7 separate regions of the Homo sapiens genome follow, and all the other regions are linked to region 6. Evidence: promoter capture Hi-C in 16 types of primary human blood cells and fetal thymus (Javierre and others, 2016). All regions are on one chromosome and are shown on one strand. The core of a region is centred on a gene start or on the middle of the fragment in contact, and the rest is flanking DNA. Distances in the headings are between cores, read along the strand shown. Region 1 holds the start of SLC27A5 (solute carrier family 27 member 5). Region 2 holds the start of ZNF324 (zinc finger protein 324). Region 3 holds the start of ZNF132 (zinc finger protein 132). Region 4 holds the start of ZNF497 (zinc finger protein 497). Region 5 holds the start of ZNF837 (zinc finger protein 837). Region 6 holds the start of ZNF671 (zinc finger protein 671). Region 7 overlaps ZNF8 (zinc finger protein 8).

What was found. Contacts are between HindIII fragments. The CHiCAGO score rates a contact against its expected background, and 5 or more counts as called.
Region 1: a contact is called between the fragment with the promoter of SLC27A5 here and the fragment with the promoter of ZNF671 in region 6, in 1 of 17 cell types (total CD4 T cells). The highest score is 5.3, in total CD4 T cells.
Region 2: the fragment with the promoter of ZNF324 here is called in contact with the fragment with the promoter of ZNF671 in region 6 in 8 of 17 cell types (neutrophils, naive CD4 T cells, fetal thymus and 5 more); the score reaches 15.7 in neutrophils.
Region 3: the fragment with the promoter of ZNF132 here is called in contact with the fragment with the promoter of ZNF671 in region 6 in 1 of 17 cell types (neutrophils); the score reaches 6.1 in neutrophils.
Region 4: a contact is called between the fragment with the promoter of ZNF497 here and the fragment with the promoter of ZNF671 in region 6, in 7 of 17 cell types (neutrophils, naive CD8 T cells, activated CD4 T cells and 4 more). The highest score is 13.0, in neutrophils.
Region 5: the fragment with the promoter of ZNF837 here is called in contact with the fragment with the promoter of ZNF671 in region 6 in 1 of 17 cell types (neutrophils); the score reaches 5.9 in neutrophils.
Region 7: a contact is called between a fragment that was not itself captured here and the fragment with the promoter of ZNF671 in region 6, in 1 of 17 cell types (neutrophils). The highest score is 6.4, in neutrophils.

The regions. Positions count from the first base shown.
Region 1 is chr19:58,509,579-58,513,468 of GRCh38, forward strand. SLC27A5 (solute carrier family 27 member 5) reads right to left here and starts at 2,414. Exons shown (of 10, transcript NM_012254.3): 1 at 1,690-2,414; 2 at 1,143-1,352; 3 at 269-427. The coding sequence starts at 2,377. LOC105372485 (a long non-coding RNA gene) reads left to right here. Exons shown (of 2, transcript XR_001754024.2): 2 at 206-1,545. RefSeq lists an enhancer at 2,117-2,631. The HindIII fragment of the contact is 7,866 bases long and covers 104-3,890 here.
Region 2 is chr19:58,464,580-58,468,508 of GRCh38, forward strand. It overlaps ZNF324 (zinc finger protein 324), which reads left to right and starts at 2,501. Exons shown (of 4, transcript NM_014347.3): 1 at 2,501-2,604. RefSeq lists enhancers at 2,232-2,848, 2,849-3,463, 3,882-3,929 and silencers at 2,491-2,540, 2,621-2,750. The HindIII fragment of the contact is 6,014 bases long and covers 1-3,929 here.
Region 3 is chr19:58,437,628-58,441,505 of GRCh38, forward strand. It overlaps ZNF132 (zinc finger protein 132), which reads right to left and starts at 2,526. Exons shown (of 3, transcript NM_003433.4): 1 at 2,132-2,526. The coding sequence starts at 2,194. It overlaps ZNF132-DT (ZNF132 divergent transcript), which reads left to right and starts at 2,821. Exons shown (of 1, transcript NR_186311.1): 1 at 2,821-3,878. It also overlaps a transcript of ZNF324B not described here. RefSeq lists enhancers at 2,192-2,702, 2,935-3,064, 3,214-3,723. The HindIII fragment of the contact is 11,200 bases long and covers 1-3,878 here.
Region 4 is chr19:58,361,049-58,364,556 of GRCh38, forward strand. It overlaps ZNF497 (zinc finger protein 497), which reads right to left and starts at 1,703. Exons shown (of 3, transcript NM_198458.3): 1 at 1,629-1,703. It overlaps ZNF497-AS1 (ZNF497 antisense RNA 1), which reads left to right and starts at 1,578. Exons shown (of 3, transcript NR_136527.1): 1 at 1,578-1,704; 2 at 3,488-3,508. It also overlaps the pseudogene RNA5SP473. RefSeq lists enhancers at 990-1,538, 1,268-1,397. The HindIII fragment of the contact is 6,825 bases long and covers 1-3,508 here.
Region 5 is chr19:58,378,684-58,382,695 of GRCh38, forward strand. It overlaps ZNF837 (zinc finger protein 837), which reads right to left and starts at 2,347. Exons shown (of 3, transcript NM_138466.2): 1 at 2,258-2,347. It overlaps LOC105372484 (a long non-coding RNA gene), which reads left to right. Exons shown (of 2, transcript XR_936130.2): 2 at 102-342. RefSeq lists enhancers at 1,071-1,612, 1,429-1,658, 1,613-2,154, 1,689-1,748 and a silencer at 2,099-2,608. The HindIII fragment of the contact is 42,021 bases long and covers 1,630-4,012 here.
Region 6 is chr19:57,725,825-57,729,492 of GRCh38, forward strand. It overlaps ZNF671 (zinc finger protein 671), which reads right to left and starts at 1,800. Exons shown (of 4, transcript NM_024833.3): 1 at 1,567-1,800. The coding sequence starts at 1,704. RefSeq lists enhancers at 1,499-1,999, 1,517-1,956, 2,097-2,146 and a silencer at 1,953-2,178. The HindIII fragment of the contact is 7,103 bases long and covers 1-2,543 here.
Region 7 is chr19:58,299,933-58,303,933 of GRCh38, forward strand. ZNF8 (zinc finger protein 8) reads left to right here. Exons shown (of 4, transcript NM_021089.3): 4 at 1-2,859. All of the region lies in intron 4 of ZNF8-ERVK3-1 (ZNF8-ERVK3-1 readthrough (NMD candidate)), which reads left to right. Among named protein-coding and RNA genes, the nearest start is that of ERVK3-1, 3.4 kb to the right of the region's middle. The HindIII fragment of the contact is 9,060 bases long and covers 1-4,001 here.

The sequences.
Region 1 (3,890 bases), core at 1,164-3,663, 780 kb after region 6:
TCCTGAGCACCACACCTTCCTTGGATGCCTGTGACCATCACTCGTATCAGGTCTTGTCACCTCCTGACCAAAGCATGGCCATCAGGGACTGTGTGGGTGTCCAAGCTTCTGTCCATGCGGCCCTGGTAGTCATTGGTGGGTGTCCCTTCTCAAAAGTGAGAACACAGGGTGCTGGGTAACCTATGGTGTCTTTTTGCCTTGACAGCCCCACGCCGACACTTACTCCCGTGGTCCTGTAGACTGGAGGGATCCTCAGAAGTGGGCTTACCGAGATCTAAGCAGCCGAGGATCCCAACGACAAGTCCCATCACGTGGTACAGAGGCAGGACCGTGTAAACCACATCATCAGCTGTGGCCCCAGATAAGGACAGCATCTTGCTCATCTGCAGTACCCGCTCATGCGTGAGGATGGCTGGCTTCGGGAGGCCTTGGGATGAAGGCATGGCAAGGGCAGGGTGGTGACATGACAGCACAGAGAGGGGCCTGACCAGAGGGATAGATCTCCAACAGCCAGGCCTACATTGGGGTTTGAGGCTCTCAGAGAACAGTCAAGTATAGGGATTTGTGGTTGGGTTCACAGGCTGAATTTGGACTGAAAGTAATATGTCAAGATCAAAGGTTTCAGTGGCTGTTTACTGGACACAGGAAGAATTCTGGCATTGACCTCTCAAATTACATTGGGGGTCAGAGTTCAGGCCAAATATCAAAATCAAGTCTGGGAGCAGTGGCTCACGCCTGTAATCCCAGCATTTTGAGAGGCTGAGTTGGGCAGGTCCCCTGAGGTCAGGGGTTAGAGACCAGCCTGGCTAACTTGGGGAAACCCTGTCTCTACCAAAAATACAAAAATTAGCTGGGCATAGTGGTGTGTGCCTGTAATCCCAGCTACTCAGGAGGCTGAGGCAAGAGAATTGCTTGAACCCAGGAGGTGGAGGTTGCAGTGAGCCGAGATTGCACCACTGCAGTCCAGCCTAGGCGACAGAGCGAGACTCTGCCTCGAAAAAAAAAACAGCCAAACAAAAAACAAATGTCAAAATCAGAGGGTAAAGTGGTTTCAGAGGTCAACACTGAGTCACAAGTCAAGTGTGGGGTCAGGTCAGCCTGAGAGTTCAGAGGCTGGTGCTAGGGCTAATGGGCACCCTCACCAGTGGTCCCCGAGGTATAGATGAAGAGGGCAGGGCTTCTCCATGTGATCCCAGCACGCAGGTCAGCAGGCACTGGGTGGGAGGGCGCTGCATCCAGGGCAGCCCCCAGAGCCCCCACCCCTGGTGTAGGGGAGGTATGGCTGAGGTAGAAGCAGCGGATGTTCTCAGCCTGCAGCTTGGGAAGGATCTCCTCCAGGCTCTCCCGGAGGTCTGCAGAGATGGGTCAGAGGAGAAACAGAGGCAAGGCTCACCTTTGAGGTTGCGAGGCGGGATCTGAGACCCACAGATGCAGGCAGAGGAGCAGCTAGTAGAGAAAAGCATCCATGTTGTTTGGTAAAGAATCCCATCATTAGTATTTTTGGTCAAATTGTGGGAAAATTAAACTCTGATGACCTGAGAACTACTTTCTGCTCATAAGTCTTGATTATAATTGCCTGTGAAAGTAGGCAGGTGGGGACCAAGGGCCTCTGCCAGTCCCAGCAGAACCCCTGTCCTATAGTCCCTGCCCTTGCCCCCTTCCATTCTCCACTGGCTCCAAGGCCCTCACCTGGGTCCACCACCAGCACCCGGGCCCCAGAGCTCAGCACAGAGTGCGCCAGGGGCATCCCCCGGCCATGCGGGTTGATCCAGGCTGTTGGGCAGCCCAGCTTGGCCAGCCCCAGCCACATACACAGGGCTGGAACGGCCTGGGAAGCCAGCACAAGGAGGGCAGTAGGCTCCCCGGCACACAGGCTCGCAGGGTCACCCAGCTCAGCCTTCAGGGCCCATGCCGCCTGGCAGGCCCGGGCATCCAGCTCACCAAAGGTGACTGAGCCGGCCCCAGGCCCCGTCCACACCAAGAGTGCCCTGCCAGGCTGCGCTCGTGCTCGCCGCTCGAAGGCATCTACAAAGGTGTCAGGCGGCTGCCGGCTCAAGCATCCCCTGATCTTCAGGCCCAGGTGGAGGATCTTGGCCAAGAAGATCACATCAGCCGGCAGCCAGCGTAGTCCTGGGGGCAGCCGTGCTGGCAGGAGGGTTAGTGCCAGGGCCGCAGCTGCCAGGCTCAGCCCATGGGGCACCCAGGGGCCGAGCCAGGGCCGTGCTAACATGGCCAGCCCAAGTAGCACGCAACATGTGGGATCCCCCAGGAGCCAGCGCAGGGTCAAGGCCACAGCGACTGGCCACACTGGCTGCCCCAGGCCCCAGAGCAGGAGCAGCAGCAGCAGCAGCAAGGCCAACTGTTGCCTGACACCCATGGTACCAGCTCCTCCCTAGGAGCAGCAGCTGTGGAGTGTTCAGGCTCACCTCTGGCCCCTCAAGAGTAGCCCAATGGCTCCTCCCCAGGGGTGGTGGCCCTGGCACTGCTGACAGTGGCTGGTCCTCTCCCCAGGACTTTGCCCCCAGCCCTTCTCCTCTACGTTTGTTTGCTCTGCCTGGTCTTGTGTGTGGGTCCAGCCCCTCTCTGCCTGGCGCTAACCCTTTCCATCACTGGCCTCTGGGTTCCCAGGTCTCTGCCCCTTGGGCACCACTAGCCTCCTTCCTGCTGTCCTGCTTGCCCCATCCACCCTCCAGGGCTGGCATCTAACTCCCTTGCCTCCCCTCCCATCCCTGCTGGGTACCAGACACTCAGAGCACAGAAATCCCTGCCCTTGGGAACACTCCAATCAGGCCAAACAGAAAAGCAACAGGACAGCAAGGTGGACCTCATTGGGAGGTCCTCCTGTGACACCCACTGAAACCCTGAGGAGAGGGGCTCAGCCAGGCTAAGCCCCTTGTCCCATGATCCGAGGAATCGTACCCTCCTGCCAGGCATACAGCAAGTGCTCAGTAAATACAGGAACACTGGCATCGCCTGGATTCAAACCCAGCTCTGCCCCCCACCCATGTGCTTGCTCTGACTCTCTGCTCCACCTCTGGCTTTGACGACGATGGAGTCCTGGGGTTCAGGAGACTGAAGTCAGCCCATGATGCACACAGTTGGATCATGAAAGCCCTGGCCTCTCACCTTGAGGAAGCAGTCTCAGAAGGTGAACCCAGAGGAGCTGCCATTGGCCTAGGAGCCTGGCAGGTCAGGCTGGGGTATGGCCTGGGGCCATACCCCACTCCACCAGCTCCAAATCCTTATGGCAGGGCACCTAGGCTAGGAGCCACTATTGTGCTGAAGAGGAGAGGGGCAAAGAGTGGCTGCTCTCTCCGCTGGATGCAGGGGCCTGGGACACTGGCTGGCCAGTAGGGGTGGTGTCCCCAACCGCCCAGCAGTCAGCCCCAGGATCCCACCCCTCACTGTTTCCTGCCCCCAACACGGCCATCGGAGCCCTCCCTGAACTTTGCCCCCAGCACCAAGGGCAGATATATGGGGGCTTATATACCCTCAGTGCAACCTGGCCCCAAAGATCCCCCTGGGCTCCCCACAAGTAAGGTGCTCAGCCATGTCCATCAAGGTCGGGGAGGGGAAGTCTTAAGTCCAAAAGACCCTTAGAGCCTGACTGGAAGATCTATGGGAGGGGCCTTAAAGGTCGTGGACAGCAGCAACCAGGAGTATGATGGGGCTTTCACGTGGCCTCCCTCTCGGAGACCCACCTCAGATGTGGCCTGCCTATCCTACTCCCCACAGGACTGAGGGATCCAAGAGAACCAAGTGCTGGTTATATATGCAGCCCACCTTAGCCCCTACAGAATAGAGGTCCTAGATGGCAAAGTGGACCATCCTGTTCCTGCCCAGGACAGCCTGTGGGCCGCATGGATGCCACCCAAGAACAGGGACGCTGA
Region 2 (3,929 bases), core at 1,251-3,750, 740 kb after region 6:
TGACAGAGTGAGATGCTGTCTCAAATAATTAAATTAAAAATTAAAAAATGAAACGTTTGAAGAGTTAAAATGCCTCCAAATATTCATACATTGCTTAAAATGGTAATAATGCCTCTAAGCATTTGATCAAATCACAACTTTAATACTACTTTTTTTTTTTTTTGAGACAGAGTCTTGCTCTGTCACCCAGGCTGGAATGCAGTGGTGTGATCTCGGCTCACTGCAAGCTCCACCTCCCAGGTTCATGCCATTCTCCTGCCTTAGCCTCCTGAGTAGCTGGGACTACAGGCGCCCGCCACCACACCCAGCTACTTTTATTTTTGTATTTTTTAGCAGAGACTGGGTTTCACCGTGTTAGCCAGGATGGTCTCGATCTCCTGACCTCAAGATCCGCCCACCTCGGCCTCCCAAAGTGCTGGGATTACCGGCGTGAGCCACAGCGCCCGGCCACAGCTTGAATAGTTCTAAGTGTTGGGGTTTTTTTTCTTCAGGGTTTTTGAACTTTAATACTTCCTTTTTTTTTTTTTTTTTTTTTTGAAACGGAGTCTCGCTCTGTCGCCCAGGCCGGACTGCGGACTGCAGTGGCGCAATCTCGGCTCACTGCAAGCTCCGCTTCCCGGGTTCACGCCATTCTCCCGCCTCAGCCTCCCCAGTAGCTGGGACTACAGGCGCCCGCCACCGCGCCCGGCTAATTTTTTGTATTTTTAGTAGAGATGGGGTTTCACCTTGTTAGCCAGGATGGTCTCGATCTCCTGACCTCATGATCCACCCGCCTCGGCCTCCCAAAGTGCTGGGATTACAGGCGTGAGCCACCGCGCCCGGCCCTGAACTTTAATACTTCTAAGTGTTGGGGTTTTTTTTTTCCCCCTCAGGGTTTTTGTTTGTTTTTTCCTGAGACAGGGTCTCTCTCTTACCCAGGCTGGAGTGCAGGGGCTCCATCATAGCTCACTGCACACTCCAACTCCTGAACTCAATCCTCCCACCTCAGCCTCCCATGTAGCTGGTATTACAGGCATGCAAGACCATGCTCAGCTAATTTTTATATTTTTTTATAAAGATGGGGTCACATTTTGTTGCTCAGGCTGGTCTCAAACTCCTAGGCTCCAGTGATCGCTCACCTTGGCCACCCAAAGTGCTCAGATTCCAGGTGTGAGCCACTGCGCCCAGTCCTGAAATGTTCTTAAATTCTTTCAAAGTAGCAAAATTTATATTAAAACATTCCAAACATGATGAGCTCCCTTGCTCTACAAGGATTTACAAGTAGAATCAATTAGGTGGACAGTTATAGCTGACAGTTGACAGAGAGATAGTTATAGATGGAGGTAGGTATAGAGGGAGGGAGGCAAAAAGAGTTAAGGAACTGGACAGCTGAGAACTGTCTACAGGTTCCAAAAACAAGACAAAGAACCTTTTATTATCTGCCAAACAAGACAGTCTACATTGAGACTGCTCTGCCTTTCGTTTTTATGTGTCAAAGACACTTAAATTGGCCTGTAATCCCAGCACTTTGGGAGAACGAGGTGGGCGGATCACCTGAGGTCAGGAGTTCAAGACCAGCCTGGCCAACATGGTGAAACTCCATCTCTACTAAAAAATACAAAAATTAGCCAGGCATGGTGGCGCACACCTGTGGTCCCAGCTACTACGGAGGCTGAGGCGGGGGGATCACTTGAACCTGAAGGCAGAGGTTGCAGTGAGCCGAGATTGTGCCACTGCACTCCAGCACGGGCAACAGAACAAAGACCCTGTTAAAAAAAAAAAAAAAAAACTTAAATGAGTCCCAAGAAAAAAGGAAAAAAGAATGAATATTGTGATGTGTGGGGCAAGACAAGATCTAGATGGTCTAAGGACAAGCAAATCTGGGGAATTAACTTCTGCCCATCCAAATTACAAGGAAAACAGATGCTTTGGGCAAGTGTCGAGGAACAGTCTCATACTTAAGACAAATGTAGGCTTACGGGCTGAGAATTCTTGGTGTAAAGGTTGAAAACGGACCTTAAACCTTTACGGGACATTGACACAGAGAGGTCAAACCCGCGCCCAGGACGCACAGTCAGTGAGAGGCAGAGCTGGGAAGGGAACCCGGAGCTCCAGGCATCGGCTCCTCCACCTCCACCTGCGCTACCCGGTGCATTTTCTCCTCCGTGCTCACTGCTGGTGTTGCCTCTTGGAACCTCGGCAGTTTCTGCTTTCGCACCTGCAGGGTTTAGTCTCCGGGACTGCTTGGGAGGACACCTGGAATGCCGAAGGCAGGACTACACACCGGGCGAATCCACCAGCGCCACCAAGCCCTTGAAAACCCGAGGCCGCCGCGCGACTCCATTTCCCAGCGCCCCGCGCGGCAGGGGCTTGGACGTTGCCAAGGAGACCGGTAGTGGCCCCGCCTCCACGCAGGGAAACAGGCGGGAACCACGTGACCCGGAAGGCTGTACGCAAGCGTCCGCGGCGCGCACTGGGCCAATGAGAACCGAAGGGCTGGACTTCCGGCGGTGGGACTGTCACTTCGCCGCCCGCGTCAGGCCACACCGGTGGTCTGGGCTGGGGACCGCGGGTCGGGTCCGGTTTCCAGGGGGTTCCTGGTGCTCGAGGCTGGCGGCGAGGAAGGTACTGGCTGAGGGCCCGCGTCGGGCCCGCCCTGCGCACGCGTCGTGATCAAGGGCGCCGGCCGCCGGCCGCGCCCCCAAGCCTCTGTTTCTCAGAGTGCGTCGTGGGCGTCCAGGGGACTGTCGGGCCGCGGCGGGAGCCATGCGCTCTCCCACCGTGCGGCAGCCCAGGAGGCTGCGCGCTGGGCGTTCCACGTCCATGATGGCCGGGGAGACTGAGGCGCGGGGCGGCCCCGGGACGCTGCTGGCGGGGAAAGGCTGGGTGGTCCACGCCTTTCTTCCCTCCCAGCTGCGGGTTCCGCTGGCGGCGGTGGCGCTGACAAGCCCGCGTCGGGGAAGCAGGGGAGTCCCTGCTCACACAGACCGCGCCCTCACGGAGGGAGGCCGCTTCCTAGACCTCGCCTAGTCGTCTTTCCTCTCCCTGCCCTGGGGGGGTTGCGGGGGTCAGTGCAAACTCCTGCGTCCAGGGCACTGGTGAGCTCCCGAGTTCGGGCAGCCAGGGGGCTGAGGTCCCGAAGGAGGCTCCGAGGGGAGAGTCCTGCGTGTGCAAAACCTGGGAGGGGAGCCGAAGCCCAGGTGCTTCTGGGACTGAGCTCTCTCGATGTGGAGCTGGAGTAGAGGGGATGTGTGCGGCTGCAGTATCAGGCGAGGGAGTGGGCTTTATCTCGAGGGCGTCGGGAGACATAGAAGTTTTGAACAGAATCAGGACATCCTCTGAGGACTTTAAAACGGTTCCACCGTTTGTTGCGTGGAGAACAGACATGCAGGGGTGTCGGCATGAAGGGAAGAACCGACTGCCACAGTCTGGGCAGCAGTGGAGGTGGGCGACCAGGTGAATTCTGGTGGATCTGCGGATGCATCAGGTGTGGGCTGTTTGAAGAACTAAGTACCCCATGTTGTTCAGCCTGAGCGCCTGGAAGAAGAGAGCTGCTGTAGATAGAAAGGAGAATTGAAAGGAAAGCAGGTTTCCTTCAGGGGAAAGATCAAGAGTCTGGGATGTCCCAGGTTGGTCATGTCACTGGACCTGACGTTGTTGGCGTCCTGGGCTGTGGACAGGGCCTATGAATTGGACTGAGGAATGGGCAGGGACTCAGCCAGGTGTGGGCAGTTATGGCTTGAGGGTAAAGAAGACCAGCTGGGATGCCTGGGGCTATTGGGAAGAGCCTAGCACCTAACTGAGGAGGGGAGGGTGGCAACAGAGAGGGGAAGAAAGGGGACACCGGGTGAAAGGAGGAAGGGATTGAGTTCCTCTGTGTTCACAGGTTGTTGAGGCTGCTCCCCTGTGGCGACTGGTGAGAATCATCCAGTCCCTCAGGCTGGATGAGC
Region 3 (3,878 bases), core at 1,276-3,775, 710 kb after region 6:
CATGTCACTCCTCAGACCATACAGTTCTTATATTTCCAACCCCTCCCTGTTCACACTGTAGGCATTCTCCCTAGCATCTCACCATGCACATGGCATACCTGACAGATGCAACCGGGATCCATTCCTGGTCCAAGCCAGCTACAGAGCTCCAAAAACCCCACTGCAAGAGGCAGTCATAGCCCCTCAAGTCAATGCCTCCCCTGCCAGCCCTGTTCCTTCAACCATCAGCTGCCCAGAACCATAAGCAGATCTCAAATATCTCTTCCCTCTGATATCTTTGCCTTTGTATGTGTTGTCTCCTCCCCAGTCATAGCTGTCCTTGCTCTTCCTAACACTCAAATCCAAGATCCACTGGCCCCCACCTTGGCTTGGGGACTCAGCTTAGGCTGACCCTTTCTGATCTTGCCACTCCACCAGCCTGACAAAAACCCCAGGACCCTATTTAAGAAGAGATAACATGCCCTGACCACAAGAAGGATGGCCGCAACAATGTAGTGAGCTGTAGAGAAGCAAATCAACCTAAACCAAAGCCCAACTCTCATCCTACTTTTGCCGCTATGCTTCACTGTTGTCCTAGACCTACTCTCTGCTCAGGAGGCTCAGCCACTATCTTGAACCCAACCCACAACTGCATGCAGTGTCCACACACAAGCATCCATCCCTTGGATGTTTCCAGCCTAAACCCGACATAATTTCATAATCACATGTTTAGTGGTCTACTTGGCACCTCAATTTGGTAGTGTCTGGGACATCTCAAATACAACATGGCCAAAATCCAACTCTTTATCTTCCCCCTGAAATCTACTCCTCACACCAACTTCCACATCTGAAAGATCTAAGGTCAATTTTTTTTTTTTTTTTTTTGAGACAGAGTCTCGCTCTGTCACCCAGGTTGGAGTGCAGTGGCGCGATCTTGGCTCACTGCAAGCTCCGCCTCCCGGGTTCAAGCCATTCTCCTGCCTCAGCCTCCCGAGTAGCTGGGACTACAGGCACCCACCACCACGCCTGACTAATTTTTTGTATTTTTAGTAGAGATGGGGTTTCACCGTGTTAGCCAGGATGGTCTCAATCTCCTGACCTAGTGATCCACCTGCCTCGGCCTCCCAAAGTGCTGGGATTACAGGCGTGAGCCACCACGCCCGGCAATTTTTTTTTTTTTTTAAGACAGAGTCTCGCTCTGTCACTCAGGCTGGAGCGCAGTGGCACGATCTCAGCTCAATGCAACCTCCATCTCCCAGATTCAAACAGTTCTTCTGCCTCAGTTTCCCAAGTTGCTGGGATTACAGGTGCACACTACCATGTCCTGGCTAATTTTTCTGTATTTTTAGTAGAGGTGGGGTTTCGCCACGTTGGCCAGGCTGGTCTTGAACTCCTGACCTCAAGTGATCTGGCCGCCTTGGCCTCCCAAAGTGCTGGGATTACAAGTGTGAGCCACTGCACTCAGCCTTAGGTCAATCTTAACATTTCACTTTCTTTCACTGTCCCACATCAGGTAATCCATGGCCCAGTTTGGGCAGATTCAGAAGCCAACCATCTGTCCTACCTCCACGGGCACCCCTCTGTCCAGCTACCCAAAGCACACATCTGGACCACATCTGTCAGCTCCTCACTGGCCTTCCTGCTCCACCATCACCATCCCTCCAGTCTGCTGCCCACTAGGCATCCATAGGGCGTCTGTTAAGACTGGAGTCAGAGCACCTACTTCCTCTACTCCAAACCTTCCATGGCTCCCACCACCATCAGAATAGAGGTCCAGCTCCTCAGGCTGCCATTCCAGGCCTAACTATTGGTTTCCCTTCCCTGTTTCCACCAGACTAAATGGAGACCGGCAGTCCCCAGAATGCTTCCATTTCATCACCACTAAACAAGGTACACATGCTGGTCACTGTCCCTGGGACAGCCTTCCAGATCTCATTCCACAGGATTCCAGAAATGGGAATCCCTCGATATAACCCCTTGCCTGGATTCAGGATGGTAAGGGTAAGTGACTCCCAGGGCAGGGCCCAGGACCCACGTGTGAGGACAGGACACGATCAAGAGTCCCAGGACACCAACATCCCCTCTATCTGGGCTTCAGGATCCTGAGGGCCGGAATCCCAGCGGGTGAGGGCCTGGGGCACACTCCACTTACCTGCGCCGGGCCCATCAGCAACGCTGGCAACCCCATTAGAACCTGTGGGCTGGGCAGGGCCATAACAGGAGGCCCAGGGCTAGCCCTGCCGCTGGGCCGAACCCTCACACTTCCGCTGGGTGACGGTCGCACTCAGGACCTGTCTTCCCAAATGCAAAATGCGCGCAAGGCCTCTGGGCACCGCAGGGACGAAGGCTGGGTATGGAGACCCTGGAGACGCGTGGCGCTGGCTCCACTTTCGGGAACACCTTGGCTCATAAAAGCAGAGTAATTAGCCGGGCACTATGGTGCGTGTGAAGGCGCGGTGACGGTCCCTGCACCCACTCCCGTGCCCTGGTGTGGCTCCAGAGGCCTGCTGTAGCCCAACCCACCAGCAGCAAAATGAGGACCGCAATGGCGGCGCCGGAAGTCCCGCCTCTCAATGACAGCTCGGACTTGCCACTGGTCCGAGCTTTCATTGGCTCAAGGATCCCCGCCGTCTATGACGCTATTTCCCTATGCCCGTCACGCTACTGCTAGGTCGTTGCCAAGGTGATTGAGGAATGGCGTTTATTGCGTCGCTGCTCAGGCAACGCAAACTACATTATCCAGAAGGACCCTCGCGGTGCCTCAGGGCTGGCCATTGGCAGCCGAGGAGACAGGCACTTCCGGGCGGAGTGTAAGACGCTGGCCAATCACAGCCTGGCAGCGGGACTTCCGTCGTCGTCCTCGGACCATCACTTTGGCATTTCTCGATTTTGTCTGCTTCTGAAGGGACCGCGTTGTCAGGCGAGGGACGGAATCTTGGAGGCTCCCTGGGCCCATGGAAACAGGAGCGAGGAAGGCACGAGAGTCGGGGAAGTTCCGCCTTCTTGACATACAAGCGCCCCCACCGCGGCGAATATCGCCCCTGAGCCCAGTGTTCGCCCCCCACAACACCGCACCCCCCTTCCCCACCCTGTGCCTTAGATAAAGCCGGCCCAGTGGGACCCTCAGGTTGCACCGCGCGGAGGTGTCCGCGGCTCTCGGGAGTCGTCGCCCTTGGCGTTATGTTGGCTTTAGGGAGCGCGAGGCCGAGGCCAAGAAAAGCTACGCATTGGGAGGTCTTGACCCAGTGTGCGCCCGGCTGTAGGCATGGAACGTGCGCCAAAGGTCTCCTGGCACCCACTCCGCTGGACTCAGCACCATTGTCCTAAGTCTCCGATTGAGAAGTATCTGCCCCAGGTCCTCTGCGGGCCCCACTGAACAGTGTGGAGCGTTCACAGGTTGGGGGTCACCATTTCAGAATCCAGTTTGTTGAGACGTGGAGGGTACAGGAGGAGGGATCTGCATATGCGAAGACTTGGACTTGACCCTGACCTGAGCGTTCAGGCAGGCTCTCATGCCCCCTTGGCAGCGAGTGGAGAGCGTAAGAGGAGTCCTGCCTCTCCTGGCACACCGAGGGCGCCTGGGAGCCATGAAAGGTGTTGAACAGAAAAGGGATGGACATGACCTGAGTTAGAATTTGGAAAGTATTTCAGTGGTTGCTGAATGAACACACTACTGGAGAAGGTGGTTGTAGTGGGGCTGGAAGCAGGGAGACTGTGGGGGAGGTTATTGCAGTATTGTTCCAGACAGTTATGATAGTGGCCTGTCCAGAACGGAAGCAAGAAGGATGGGAGAAGTGATCAGATTCCCAGTGGATCTTCAAGATAGAGCTAATGGAATTTTTTGCTACCTTAGATAAGTGGAATAAGCATGAGTAGGGGTGAAGGACCATCCCAAGTAG
Region 4 (3,508 bases), core at 453-2,952, 640 kb after region 6:
TGGGATTACAGGCGTGAGCCACGGCACCCGGCCGGTGGGCCGGTCCTGAACTCTTGACCTCAGATGGTCCACCCGCCTCGGCCTCCCAAAGTGCTAGTATTACAGGCGCGAGACACCTCGCCCAGCCTATGCAACATTCGTAAAATGACAAAATGGTAGAAATGAGAACAGATTACTAGTTGACAAAAAGAGGTTAACGGGGAGCAGAGGTAGGAGGGAAGGGTATGCGGCTCTGTAAGGGCAACACGGGGATCCTTCGTGATGGAAATATTCTGCATCTCAGTTGTGATATTGTACTCTAGTTTTTCTTTCTCTTCTCTTTTTTTGAGACAGAGTCTCGCTCTGTTGCCCAGGTTGGAGTGCAGTGGCGTGATGTGGGCTCACCGCGACCTCCGCCTCCTGGGTACAAGCGATTCTCCTGCCTGAGACTCCCGAGTAGCTGGGATTACAGGCACCAGCCTCCACACCCGCCTAATTTTTGTGTTTTCAGTACAGATGGGGTTTCACCATGTTGCTCAGGCTGGTCTTTAACTCCTGAGCTCAAGGGATCCACCCGCCTTGGCCTCCCAAAGTGCTGGGATTACAGACATGAGCCACCGCACCTGGCCTCTAGTTTTTCAAGATGCCACCTTTAGGGGAATTGGGTAAAGCGTACATAGGGTATGCATTACTTGTTACTGCATGTGAATTTATAATTACCTCAAATCAAAAGTTAAATTTTAAAAAAACGACATCTGATTTCAATAAAAATCCATATTTGTGTATTGAAGTATCAGAAATCCGGGTCCCCCAAGGGCCCATGTTTCTTAAGGCGGAGCCAGGCACCGCTGCCCCTCCATCCTGTGGTGTGCGACCCCGACCCGCCAGCCCCCAGCCGCATCTATCAGGGCTGCCGTCCTGAGTCCGTCCTCGTCGTGGGATAGCATGTGAGCCCCGTAAGGTCCTTCCTGTCGGCCTCACTGCTCCAGCCTCCCCGACGTCCTCACGTCCACGCTGCGTGCCCTTTCTGAGCCTCAACGCCTCCTCCTCACCTCGACATGATCAGAGCCACCTCCCGCGTCAGTCCCAGCGCCCACGCCCCCAACAACGGGCACTTGTCCGACCAGTCACGGGTACTTGTGTCTCCCCCACAACCCCCAAGGCCTAGGCTGGACAAACAAATACGGAGTGGATAAAGGGGAGGAAGCTGCGGCCAGGTGGCGCGAGGCCTGTGCGGGCAGCTCCGGAGGCTGGGAGGCGAGCCCAGCCTGGTGAGCTCCGAAACTACCCGGGGCTGGGGACTGATGAACGAATAAATGAATGTGGGAAGAAATGATGGCGCGGCAGGGCATGAGTGAATGAGTGAAAGAATAAACGAGCAGGAGGAACGATGCCACAGAACTGATCGCCATAAGGCTCGCGTTCACCGAGAGAACAGCAAACGGGAGCCATTTCCGTCCCGACCACGGTCGCCTCTGGCCCGTGCAGGGCCACTTCCGGGCCGCTCTGGACGGCGCGGAGGCCTATCTCTCGGTGGTCCCAGAGGGCCCAGCTCAGGGCCGAGGCCCGTCCTGCCCCGCGCGGCGGGAGTGGTTGGAGCCGGAGGGCGGATCTGTGCCTGGCCGAGGGTGTCCGTCGGCGTCACTCACCGTCCTCGGCCCGCCTCTGCGTCCACTAGGAGCGGCCTGAAAGAGGCCCGCACGCGGGCTCGAGCCGCGTGGAATGGTAGGAGGGCGGGCACCGGGTCTCCTGGGGGCGCGGTTGCATTCGGCAGAGCGGCCCAAGGCGTCGCGTTTCTCCCCACTGCGCCTGCGTAACTATGCCGCGGCTGCGGGCGCGCGCCTTCTGGTTCCCATGGGGACGGCGCCACAGCCAAGCTACTCGGGCGTCCTGCGTTGCCATGGATGCGCTCCGCCCCTTCCTGCACCCGGCCAGCCTCTGCGGCACACACCCAACAGCTACACAGGCGCCTGGGGCTGCCCGGGTCGCGGACGCAAGTCGGGCCAACGTAGCTTCTCCCTGGCGGTCCTCCTCCGGCCCCAGGCCGTCTTTACCACCCTGGAACCTTGCTGAGTTGACGCCACTGAGCTGCGTCTCACACCCACGCGCTGTGGAACACCCACCAAGCTGGAATCCACGCGGTTTTTAAAATAGAGTCGGGGGCCGGGCGCGGTGACTCACGCCTGTAATCCCAGCACTTTGGGAGGTCGAGGCGGGCGGATCACGAGGTCAGGAGATCGAGACCATCCTGGCTAACACGGAGAAACCCCGTCTCTACTAAAAATACAAAAAATTAGCCGGGCGTGGTGGCGGGCGCCTGTAGTCCCAGCTACTCGGGAGGCTGAGGCAGGAGAATCGCTTGAACCTGGGAGGCGGAGCTTGCAGTGAGCCGAGATCGCGACACTGCACTCCAGCCTGGGGCGACAGAACGAGACTCCGTCTCAAAAAAAAAAAAAAAAAATTGAGTCGGGATCTCAGAAGCTAAGCAGGGTCGGGCCTGGTTAGTACTTGGGAGACCGTCTGGGAACACCGAGTGCTGTTGGCTAAAATAAATAAATAAACCGGGCGCGGTGGCTCACGCCTGTAATCCCAGAACTTTGGGAGGCCGAGGCGGGCAGATCACGAGGTCAGGAGTTCGAGACCAGCCTGACCAACATGGTGAAACCCCGTCTCTACTGAAAATACAAAAATTAGGCTTGTTGGCGTGTGCCTATAATCCCAGCTACTCGGGAGGCTGAGGCAGGAGAATCGCTTGAACCGGGGAGGCAGAAGTTACAGTGAGCTGAGGTCGTGCCACTGCACACTCCAGCCTGGGTGACAGAGCAAGACTCCGTCTCAAAAAACAACATAGACCAGATGCTGTAAGCTAAAATAAATGAATAGCTAGAGACGGGGTCTCGCTATATGGCCCAGGCTGGTCTTGAACTTCTGGGCTCAAGTGATCCTCCCACCTTGGCCTCCCAAAGTGCTAGGATTACAGACCCGAGCCACTGCACCCGGCCTCCACGAGCTCTTTTTGTACCAATTTTTCCCAATTTGTACTAGGGAGCTCTCACCTCAGCCCAGGTGGTTTGGGCAGGTGTGGGTACATGGCCCAGGTCCACAGCACAGGGCAGTCCATCCCTCTGGCCCTGGCAGTGGTCACTTTGGACCTGTGAGCATCGTGGGACTTCTCTCTGAACTGTTAGGGCCTCTATCTGCTTTGAACCTGAGGCTGTGAGCATCTGTCAGCTGGGGCAGCTGCAGCCTTCTTGCCCCGCTGAAGGATGAATCTGTTAAGAGAATGGAGTCCATACAGAAAAGCAGAACTGAGGGATGGTGTGTTAGTTTCCTGTGGTTATGCAGCAAATTACCACAAATTTGGTGGCTTAAAACAGCAGAAATATATTCCCGCCCAGTTCTGGGGACCAGAAGTCTAACATCGATATGACTGAGCTGAAACAAGATGTTGACAGGGCTGAGCTCCCTCTGGAAGCTCTAACGTAGAACCTTTCCTTGCCTTTTTCAGCACCTAGAGCTGCATTCCATG
Region 5 (4,012 bases), core at 1,097-3,596, 650 kb after region 6:
ACTCTCAGAATGTGACCTTATTAGGTCTTTGCAGACATAATTAAGGATCTTGTGATGAGATCACCCTGAATAACCTGGGTGTGCCCTAATTCCAATGACAGGTGTCCTTATGAAGGAGGCAAAGGGAGTTCTGACACGGAGAAGAGTGGTCCATGTGAAGATGGAGGCTGATATTGGAGTGATGCAGCCACACTCCAAGGAACACCCGGAGCCGCCAGAAGCCGGAAGAGGCAAGGAAAGACCCCCACCCAGAGCCGTCAGAGAGCACAGTACTGCTGACACCTTGATTTCAGACTTCTGGCTTCCAGGACTGTGAGAGTAAATTTCTGTTGTTTTAAACTGCCCAGTTTGTGGTAGTGTGTTATAGCAGCCACAGAAACTAATAGAGACTGGTCTAGCACCCTCGACAGAATGTGTGTGTTGTAAGGGGCTCTCCTGATCCCTAGTGATGGGGAGTCAGAGGACTGCTTAGTGTCTGAACAGAGGGTTGGGGAAGCTGGGTTGTCCTGAAGAACCAGCAGTCCCCACTTGGCAGAAAGGGACCCTGAACTTGTGGGAGGTGGGGGCTGAGGGGCACCTGCTAGCCATGTGCTAACAGCATCTTCGGATTGGTCCCCAGATGCCCTGCTCCCAGGGGTGGCTCCTCTGCTGCAACAAGAACCTGCCTCCCAGCACCAGACACAGCAGGTGGGAGCTGTGGACCATGGCCGAGTCTCTTCGTCTCCTTGATCTGCTCCCAGGATGCACTGTCCAACTATCCCACCTGTAGGTGGGTGGCATTCCAGCCATGGACCCATGATCTGAGGCTGAGCACAGCAAACACAATCGAGGCTCTGGGTCCCAGGTCCCAGGAGCCCGTCCTTGATGGTGCATTACAGCTCTCCCAGGCTGTTCTTACAGTGACCTCCCACCTGCCCCAGGTGAGCATGCTTGCACCTGGGTGCTCGCCCAGCCTTTCTAGTTGTCCTTAGGGCTTCTGGTGTTGGGAACAGGATGCAGAGTTACCAATTTAGGGGGACTGAGAGGTTAACGTGGCCAAGGCTGAGCCCTGCAGAACTGCAGAGCAACAGCACACACAGGAAAGCTAGTGAGGTTCAACATCCTCATGGAGGTTGCACACGGCACAATGAGGTCTTATTTGCCCAAGAGAATGTGCAGGGAAGTCGCCAGGCACGGTGGTGCATGCCTGTAATCCCAGCTACTCGGGAGGCTGAGGCTGGAGAATCGCTTGAACCCGGGAGGCGGAGGTTGCAGTGAGCCGAGATCGCGCCACTGCACTCCAGCCTGGGCAACAAGAGCGAAACTCCGTCTCAAAACAACAACAACAACAACAACAACAAAAACAGAATGTGCAGGGAAGTCAACGTTGGTGGCTCTGAGGTGTGGAGGACACAGGCTAGTGCCCAGCTCAGCGTGGCTCCACCTCTCTGAGCCACAGACCAACCTCACCCACACTGACAGTCCCAGGGGACACAGACTCTAGCCCCTATGTCCAATTCTACACTGTGCACGCAATGGGAAGAACAGTGCATCATGCACTGTACAGCAGAAGAAATGTCCTCTGAGTGCAGGCACAGCTCCCTTCTGTGTCTGTCCTCCCGACAGTGCCTCCACCCTCAAGGATTAGCAAGCTTCAACCCTCGCAGGACATCCACTGTGTCAGGGCCAAACGGTGCTGCATCCTGCTCTAATAGTGAGTGAAGGAGGGGACCGCAGACAAGAAGAAATGAACAAGAGACCGTTTAAGAGAGAAAAAGACGTGAAGAACATCAGACAGGGAGCAGCGCGAGGGCGCCAGGGAGGGAGGCAGCGGATTCTTCGGGCCTCTGTGAAGAGGGGGCATGAAACCGGTCTGCAGACAAGGAAAGAGCAAAGTGCAAAGGCCAGGATGCGGGGGCAGAGACGGTAGGGAGGCCGGCGTCGGCCTCGGCTAGCAGGTGGGCTTGACTCCGAGAGCCGCAGGCCGCCAGGATGGGTCCCGGGCCTGGAGCCTCCCCTCGCGGGCTTCAATGACACCCAGCACGGAAACGCGGGGGCCAGAACTACAGAAGCCCGTCCCGCCCGGAACTCAAGGTCGCGAGTGCTGTGTGGCCGGTCCGGACCCGGAGCGCGAGGACCGGAAGTGCGCGGCGTCACGCCTCTGCCCCGGACCCCGCGCGCGGAGGTGGAGAGGGGACTGGGGTGGTGGCCGCGCTATGCGCCGGGAGGTCCCCGCCTCGCAGGCCGAGGTTGCGGGTCCGCGCAGAATGCCACTTACTCTCTGGAGGCGGCCCGCACGGGTCCCTGGTCCCCGCCCCGCATGCAGCGCGGAGCCGTCCTCCCGCCACCTCCGGGCCGCCGCGGCACTGAGGGACCCGGGCCACAGCAAGCGCAGGCGGGAACCCGCGCGGGGACTGCTGGGAAACGTAGTCCCGTCATGTCCCGCTTTGACGCTGCGGAGAAAGCGGTGTAGGGAGAGGCTTGGGCTTCGGTTATCATAGAAACAGAGGCCGGCTACACCTAAAAGGCGGGGCGTGGACCTAAGTCGTCGCCAAAGAAACGGCGTTCTGGACGGGGACGTAGGGTCCCGCCCATTCCTTCTCGTGAAAGCGGGTGACTGGTCATGATTATGATTGATAGCCTCCTCTCCCAATCTGATTTCTAAGAGGTCCCAACCCGGAACCGACTTGCGGTTCGCAGGCTCCCCTCGGGTGGGAGAGTTGGGCTGGGAAGCACCTGGGGAGCTCTGAAGTGTCTTGGTGAGCGCGTTGCGAGTCAGACCGATAACATCAGAATCTGGGACTGGGCCCGAGCATATGCGCGTCAAAACTCCTCAGTTAAGTCTATTTTTTTGTATTTTTTTTGGTTTGCTTTTTTGAGACGGGGTCTCGCTCTGTCGCCCAGGCTAATGCAGTGACACCATCACGGTTCACTGCAGCCTCGACCTCCTGAGCTCAAGCGATCCTCCTACTTCAGCCTCCAGAGTAGCTGTTAACAGGGGCGCGCGCCACCACGCCCGGCTAATTTTCTTTCTTCTCTCCCTCCCCCTCCTTCTCCCCCTCCCTTCCTCCTCCCACTATGTCGCCCAGGCTGGTCTCGAACTCCTGTACTGAAGCGACCCTCCCACCTCACCCTCCCGAATAGCTGGGACTATAGGTGGGAGCCACCATGCCTGGATAGTTTTTTTATTTTTATTTATTTATTTATTTTAGAGATAGGGTCTCCATATGTTGCCCAGACTGGTCTGGAACTCCTGGGCTCAAGCGATCCTCGTGTCTCAGCCTTCCAGAGTGCTGGGAGTACAGGCTTGAGCCACTGCGCCAGGCCCCTAGTCCGGCTCCTAGTTGATTCTAACACGTGCGGCCCCATTGGGGAACCACAGCCTCCCCAGCCCCTTTGGGTGTTGCTGACTCTACGGGCCCTCCCAGGTAGGATGAACTGGTCACGCCTCCTACCCATTTGTAACCCCCAGCTCTTGCCCCCATCTATTGTGTGGCTCCTGCCCTCAATAGGGACATCTAATTTTGTTGGCCAGTCCAGCACATATATTGCATGTAACGACCCAGTTTGCCCCACCTTTCTGCCTCCACTGCATCTGCTTCAGGGATGCTGGGACTGTTCCACTCCCTTTCTCCATCCTTTGGGTGTCTGCACATCGAAAGCCTTGTCAGGAGGTCTATCTCCCTGCCCAAGTACAAAACTCAGGGCTTACCAAGCTAATTGAGGGCGAGCAGGAGGCTGAAGGGCACTTGGAGGGCTGCCCGCCTTGTGGGTCCCTTGGTGGCTGAAGAGAGTTGCACAGGAAGGCCTTGACAATTGTCACAGAGAAAGGAGTGCAGCTGCTGGCTCTGTGTGGGTGTGCAGATGTCTGACAGGTTCAGCCACTGGCCCCAATTGGGACACAAGTGGGATTTCTTTTTTTTTTTCTTTTTTGAGACAGTCTTGCTCTGTTGCCCAGGCTGGAGTGCAGTGGCCGCGATCTCAGCTCACTGCAACTTCCGCCTCCCAGGTTCAAGCAGTTCTCTGCCTCAGC
Region 6 (3,668 bases), core at 550-3,049:
TGGGAAAACTGAGGCAGGAGAATCACTTGAATCTGGGAGGCAGAAGCTGCAGTGAGCCAAGATCGCACCATTGCACTCCAGCCTGGGTGACAGAGCGAGACTCGTCTCCAAAAAAAAAATAAATAAATAAAATAAAACCAAAGCCAAGTGCAGTGGCTCACAACTGTAATCCAAACACTTTGGAAGGCTGGGGCCGGTGGATCAGTTGAGGTCGGGAGTTCAAGACCACCTGGGCCAACACGGTGAACGTCCCCCCCACTCCCCCGCCCCCACCCCACCCCTCCCACCTCCCCACCCCACCCCACCCCTCCCACCTCCCCACCCCCGTCTCTACTATAAATACTAAAATTAGCCAGGGGTGGTTGTGGGCACCTGTAATCTCAACTACTTGGGAGGCTGAGGCGGGAGAATCTCTTGAACCCGGGAGGTAGAGGTTGCAATAAGCCACTGCATCCCACCCTGGGCGACAGAGTGAGACTTCGTCTCAAAAAAAATAAAAAAAATAAATAAACTAAAACTAAAAGAAAACACACAAAATGAGGGTGAGATAATCAGATAGTAGCAATAGCACACCACCCATCGTTGCCATCCCAGGCCAAACTCCTCATACCCTACAGCTCTCTCCTCCTGCAAACACTGAAAAGAACCCTTTCAAATGGCAGGACCCTTCTCTTCTGGGGGGAGTCTCAAGAATGCCCACTCCCTCTTCCCTGCCCTGCAGTCCCAGCCTTCTCATCTCTTACCCCAGAGATATGAAATAACATACTTAAGACTGCCCCACTTAAATCTGACCTCCTGGCCTTGACCTACTCCAGACCGCTCCCTTCACCCCAAAGATATTCTAAGCCCAGCCCCTTCCCCACAACTTCAGACCTTCCTCTCTAGTTGCCTAAGTGAGGAAGCCTCCACTCTGAGACATCTCAAAGTCACCATTCCAAAATCCAAACGTTCATGGAAAAACAACAAAAACACCTTGCTCTTTCATGCCTTACTTTCAGTCATAGCTGCATATGATGGAGCAGAAAATCCTGTTGGTTTCAAATTTAAAACCTACCCAGAATATGATCACTTCTACCCACTCACCTGCCATTACTCTTGGTACATCCACCACCAAAGCATTCCTGGAATCCACTGCAGTAGCCTCCTTACCGGTCTCCTCGTATCCATCCTCGCAGTCCCCACCCCAAACTAATGTTCTCCCCTGAGCAAATTTCGAGACACTTAAAATCCCAGCTAAGATCACGTCCTTCTATTCAAAACCCTCAGTTAATCTCAACGCCCTCAGAATGAAGCGACAACTTCTCAGCCTGCCATTCCAGTCACAGTTCCTCAAACTCTGCTCTGTGTTGATGAGAACCCTGTCTCCCAAATGTTTGGGGGTCAGCAGCACCCCCGAGCCTTTACCTGCGCCGTCCCCTCCGCCCGTAACTCTCCCACACCCACCCACACCGAGATAGGACCCCGCCCCAAGAGTGCGTCGCTGTCCTGGGACACAGGGGCTGCAGGCACTTTACGATTCGGAGTCGGAGAAAGGGTGACTGAGGGCCCGGAGGACGCAGCACCCACCCGCGCGGAGTCCGTTAGCTCCGCCATAGGACCGTGGGCGCGGACAGCTGCCGGGAGCGGCAGGCGTCTCGATCGGGGACGCAGGCACTTCCGTCCCTGCAGAGCATCAGACGCGTCTCGGGACACTGGGGACAACATCTCCTCCGCGCTTTCCCAACACCTCCACCTGCGGCCCACACAAGCGTTACAGAACCCCGGCCAGGGACAGCCTGACAGAAACAAAATGTCCGCTACAAGGAGGAGCCGGAAGTCCCGCCCACGCACCCCCCGCAGGCACTGAAACACCCCTCTCCTGGGCCCTCATTGGGTATGCAACGTATAGGTTTGTGGGTAGAGTGTGGTTCCCACTGAGCTATCCTTCAAGGCAGGGGATTCTCGGCCTGGGCTCTTGGGAAAACTCGAAGTAGGAGGGCCAAGTTGTTTGGGAAAAGTAACCCGAGTTTCAAAGGGCTGACAGGACTTCCGTCCTCTTTTTTTTTTTTTTTTTTTTTTTTGAGACAGAGTCTCGCTCTGTCTCCCAGGCTGCAGTGCAGTGGCGCGATCTCGGCTGACTGCAACCTCCGCCTCCCGGGTTCAAGCGATTCTCCTGCCTCAGCCTCCCAAGTAATTGGGACTACAGGGGCCCGCCACCACGCCAGGCTAATTTTAGTACTTTTAGCAGAGTACGGGATTTCACCATGTTGGCCAGGCTGGTCTCGAACTCCTGACTTTGTGATTTGCCTGCTTCGGCCTCCCAAAGTGCTGGGATTACAGGAGTGAGCCATGGTGCCCGGCTGACTTCTGTCCTCTTAAAAGGCCTGGACCTAGATTCCCTGGAGTGTAGTATGCACCGATCGCAGAAATGTTGAGACATTTCAGATGTTCCCCAAAGCTGCAAAACTAAATAGATACACCACACCACAATGTCTCTTTGCGTACACTCACAGCTAGAAGCTAATAACTATTACCTTGTTGCTTTTTAAATATGTGTGCACTCAAGCTTTACAGTAACTTTTGTGAGCTTCAGTTTGGTCAGAGACGGAAGAGAAAATATTCCAAACAAGGCCTTGGAGTGGAAGAAGGAAGAGGGATGATGTGGAGTCTCCCTGAAACCAGTGGACAGATTTCTTCAGAAAACTCTTCCTGCCTGGGTAATCAGTGATGTCTCCATCACAGCAAAACACAGTGCAATTACCATTTAACCTGTCATTGTCATTGTAAGTATGGTGTCTGTGTTAGGAGGTGAGATTATCCCCGGGGGAAAAATCCTGACAGCTATTAATAATGATTCCGTAGTTATTTGAAGATAATGAAAGAAATTGCTCTAAGGAAATATCTGTGATAGATGGACAAAGTTAAGATCTCAGTAAAGTTTGAGCCTGAATACTAAAGTATAAGTGAAAGAATGAAGTTAAGCATATGGTTGTGTTGTGATCTTGACCACACTTTGTCAACAAAATGTGACTCTTTTTTCCTGAAAATGCTGAGCAATTGTAAAGAAGATATCAGAATGGTAAAAATCAACAGTGAAGTTGTGCTGTCTTGATAATTCACTGTTAAAATACACATCCAAGGAACACATACGAGCTCTCAGTAGGTGTTTTTCAAATGTGTTAGTAGCATGAAAGACATCACTAATAAAATTTCCAAGATTCCTATACATACAGGACATGTCCTGCATATAATGATTTTTGTCCTGCATCACCTTTTGACTTTGTCACAATACCCTAAATAAATATTCTAAAGAAGGCAACAGTCTTAAAGAAAAGAATTTTCAACCCGGAATTTCATATCCAGCCAAACTAAGCTTCATAAGTGAAGGAGAAATAAAATACTTTACAGACAAGCAAATGCTGAGAGATTTTGTCACCACCAGGCCTGCCCTAAAAGAGCTCCTGAAGGAAGCACTAAACATGGAAAGGAACAACTGGTACCAGCCACTGCAAAAACATGCCAAATTGTAAAGACCATCAAGGCTAGGAAGAAACTGCATCAACTAATGAGCAAAATAACCAGCTAACATCATAATGACAGGATCAAATTCACACATAACAATACTAACCTTAAATGTAAATGGGCTCAATGCTCCAATTAAAAGGCACAGACTGGCAAATTGGATAAAC
Region 7 (4,001 bases), core at 653-3,152, 570 kb after region 6:
CGTTTCTCTGCACTTACCTCTTCGGGGTTGTCCTCAAAACGTTGCCGTGTCAGCTCTCACTTTTCACAGCAACTCTGGCCTCCTACCTTGGACTGCGCCACTTCTGTCTCCTTAGATAACCTCCATTCGCATAGCTAAATGCTGCACCCTCCGACACTGCCACAATAATAGTTCTGTGAGTTAGTACCATTTTATAGATAGGCAAAATTTGGCACAGGACAAAAGTTAGTGGTAACTAGAACAAAAGTAACCAGCCCAAGCTAGGAAGTGGTGGAGTTAGAATTTGATGTCAGCACCCAGCTGACCATGGCTTAAACAGATGAGGCTTTGTTCAAAGGCTGTCTTTTCAGTGGCTCAGCTGTGTCACAGTCGATGTTTTCTGCAATCTCTCAACCTTTCCATTGTGGTCATGAGGAGACTCCTATGGCTCCAGCCATTGCATCCACAGTGAAGACTGAAAGAAGGGGGAATGGGCAGGCCAACACTTACCGCTGATGGTGTTTAAAGGAAAAACATTCCCAGAAGCCTGCAGCACATGCCCCCCTTAGTCTCACTGGCCACAGATGGGTCAGGGGGCCACCCCTAATAACAACGGGGCTTAGAAACCTCGTATTTACCTTTCTAACCTCTGTGGTGGAGACAGGTGGGAGAGAAAAGTCCTGGGAAGTGGATGATGGAGGCAGCTAGCCGTAGCTGCTGCTTTTCTCTTCAAGCTCTTGGGAGAATTGCTTGTGCTCCCTATTCCCTTGGTGGATGATGGAGGCAGCTAGCCGTATCTGCTGCTTTTCTCCTTCAAGCTCTTGGGAGAATCGCTTGTGCTCCCTATTCCCTTGGTGGCAGCTCACACCTCAGACCTGCTGTCCGCCCCCACTGCTTCACAGAACCCACTGCAACCACTGTCCAAGGTACTACCTCTGGTGTCGTCTCTCTTCATCCCCAGGACTGTGAAGCCTGCTAACCTCTTTGCAGAGCTCCATCTCCTTGCATTGTGGGGTTCCTTCTAACTCTTCAGGGACTTCTCAACCTCCCGTCACCCTTCCTAAATGCTGGGGTCCTAGAGTCCACCTTGTGCTCCACGCCCTCCCCAGGTGTCATCTACATCCCTAGCTTTGTGCTGCTCACCACCAAATCAGTCTGGTGCTTCTGAGATTTGGGCTTCAGACCCAAACAACTGCTGTGTGCTACTGGGCAACTCCCCGAGGTGTGCCGAAAGCTCCCCAAACCCAGCCTACCCCAAACAAAACTCATTTTCCACCCAGACTAGTCTCTGCTTCCCTGATCCCTTTCCTGGAGGCTGTTTCCACTTGCCATCCCATCATGGAAGCCAGAAAACCAGTCTTCTTGACCTCTCCCCTTCCCCACTCCATGGAGTTAGAGGTCCTGTTGATTTTGCCATGTAAACATTTCGGATTTGCTTACTTCATCCCCACTGCCACCAACAGTGCAGGATGGCCCTAAGAGGAGAAGTAATGTGCTACCAAGTGGCCCAGCCAGAGTGTGAACCAAACAGTCTGGTACCAAAACCCTATTCTGGATCATTCCTCCTTTCTGCTCCACCAGCAGTTTGGGGCACAGGCTTGGGAATCCAGACAGGAAAGCTCCTCCCCTCTGAAGCAGTGGGACCAAAAATGACAGCATGGTTCTAGACAGCTCTGGAAGTCAGGCCTGTGATTGCCTCATTCCCTCCACCTTGGCCCCCAAAATGGCCAGTCCTGAAGGGGTCACAGTTGATACTTCTCTGAGGGGGCATGGGGTTGGCTGAGGTTATAGCAGCCCCACAGGGTGGTAAGCTGGGATGAAGCAATCAACTGGAACTCAACAAGCCTTGAGTTCTCAAAGGGGGTGTGGGAAGGTTCTTATACATCTTCTATGAAGGGCAGTTTATCAGTCACTAAATTACAAATACATAAACCCTTTGTCTCACCAAACCTGCTGGGAATGAATCCTACATATATATTTATATGTGTGCAGGCTACATGGTTTTCATTATGCTATTGATTTTAAAAGTAAAAATTTGGAAAGAACCTCCATGTCCACCATGGGGAACTGGCTAAGTCATTTATGGTGGAATGGTGATCATAAAAATTCATTAAAAATGAAGACTCTATATACAGCTTGAATATTCCTTATCGAAATGCTTGGGACCAGAAGTGTTTCAGATCTTTGCATATTTTCTGTTTCTCATTTCAGTTCACATTTTCTAAGCATGATATTCCTACTGATTTCCTTGTAGATATTTTGAAACAGATAAGAAACTCCTCCGTGGAAATTACTGTTAACTAGGGAAAAGACATGTTTTTTTCTGTTCATAAAAGTAATGCGAGTTCTTTGTAGCAAAACTTGGAAAATGCATAAAAGTAAAAAAAAAATGAAAACTTGTGTAAAATTCCTCATACTTTAGCCATCCATAGATGGTCCTTACCATTAGGATTTTACTAATTTTCCTTGCAGCTTTTTCTTAAAATATACACGTGTGTCTACACATACATAGTGTACACTAAATTTTACATACACACAGAGGAATATATATGTGTATAGTTATCTTGTGTTTAGAAATTTGGAATCCCTTCTAGTTGTCTTGTAACATGTGCTTACTCTATTTTGAGGATTTTCTCTATGAATTTCATGTAGCTCTTTAAATTAACTTTCAGGAGGATTGTAACAATGTGCTCTCCACCCAGTATTTTACCAGCCTTGAGTTTTCTCAAAGGGGGCATTGGAGGGGTTCTTATACATTTACAGTGGGAATGTGAATTGATACAACTTCTGTGGAGGGCAGTTTATCAGCCACTATCTAAATTACACATACATAAACCCTTTGTCTAAGCAAACTTGCTGGGAATAAATCCTACACATATATTTGTATGTGTGCAGACTGTTTGTACATGGTTTTCATTATGCTATTGATTTTAAAAGTCAGAATTTGGAAACAACCCTCCATGTCCACCATGGGGAACTGGCTAAGTCATTTATGGTGGAATGGAGATCATAGCCTTAAAAATGAAGACTCTTTATATACAGGTTGAGTATCCCTTATCCAAAATGCTCAGGACCAGAAGTGTTTCAGATTTCAGATTTTTGAATTAGGGATCCTCAAACTATACTAATGTGAGAAAGAGCTCTAAGATAGTTAAGTAGATAAAAGCAAGGTGTCAAACTGTAGAGTATGTTTCCATTTATGTAAAGAAGAAACAGGCTAGGCAAGGTGACTCACGCCTGTAATCCCAGCACTTTGGGAGGCCGAGGCGGGTGGATCACCTGAGGTCCGGAGTTCAAGACCAGCCTGACCAACACGGTGAAACCCCATCTCTACTAAAAATACAAAAGCTGGGTGTGGTGGTGCACACTTCTAATCCCAGCTACTCCGTAGGCTAAGGCAGGAGAATCGCTTGAACCCAGGAAGTGGAGGTTGCAGTGAGCCAATATTGTGCCATTGCACTCCAGCTTGGGCAACAAGAGCGAAACTCCATCTCAAAAATAAATAAATAAATAAGAAACATTTGTTTATATGTACACACATAATCTCTGAAAGGGTAAAAGTGGCATACTGGTTGGCCAGAAGAATTGGGAGGACAGTGATGAGGAATAATTTTCACTCTTTATCATTTTATATTTTTGGAATTTTGAAACATGTAAAATTATTACCAGTTCAAAAAATAAATTTAAACAAAAATCTTAACTGTTTCAAATTAAAGTAAGTTTGATAATTTCTTTCATTGTTTACTGTCTGCATCCCCCATACAGTGTTCACATGAGCAGAGAGTGTGTGTCTTGGTCATATTCATACTTGTTCTATATATACTCGTGTGTGTGTGTGTGTTCAGTTGACAGAAACAGTTGAGTGTAAAACAGCTTCAACTCGATGATACCAAAGATACAAGATAAAGGTCCCTGGAGGGTGGCTGTAGCGCACACATACATTTCCAAGTTACTTTGTTAAATTTCCTGTATCAATGAGCCCCAATTATGAGAGCCCCCTACATACAAGTTTTAGCCAATAG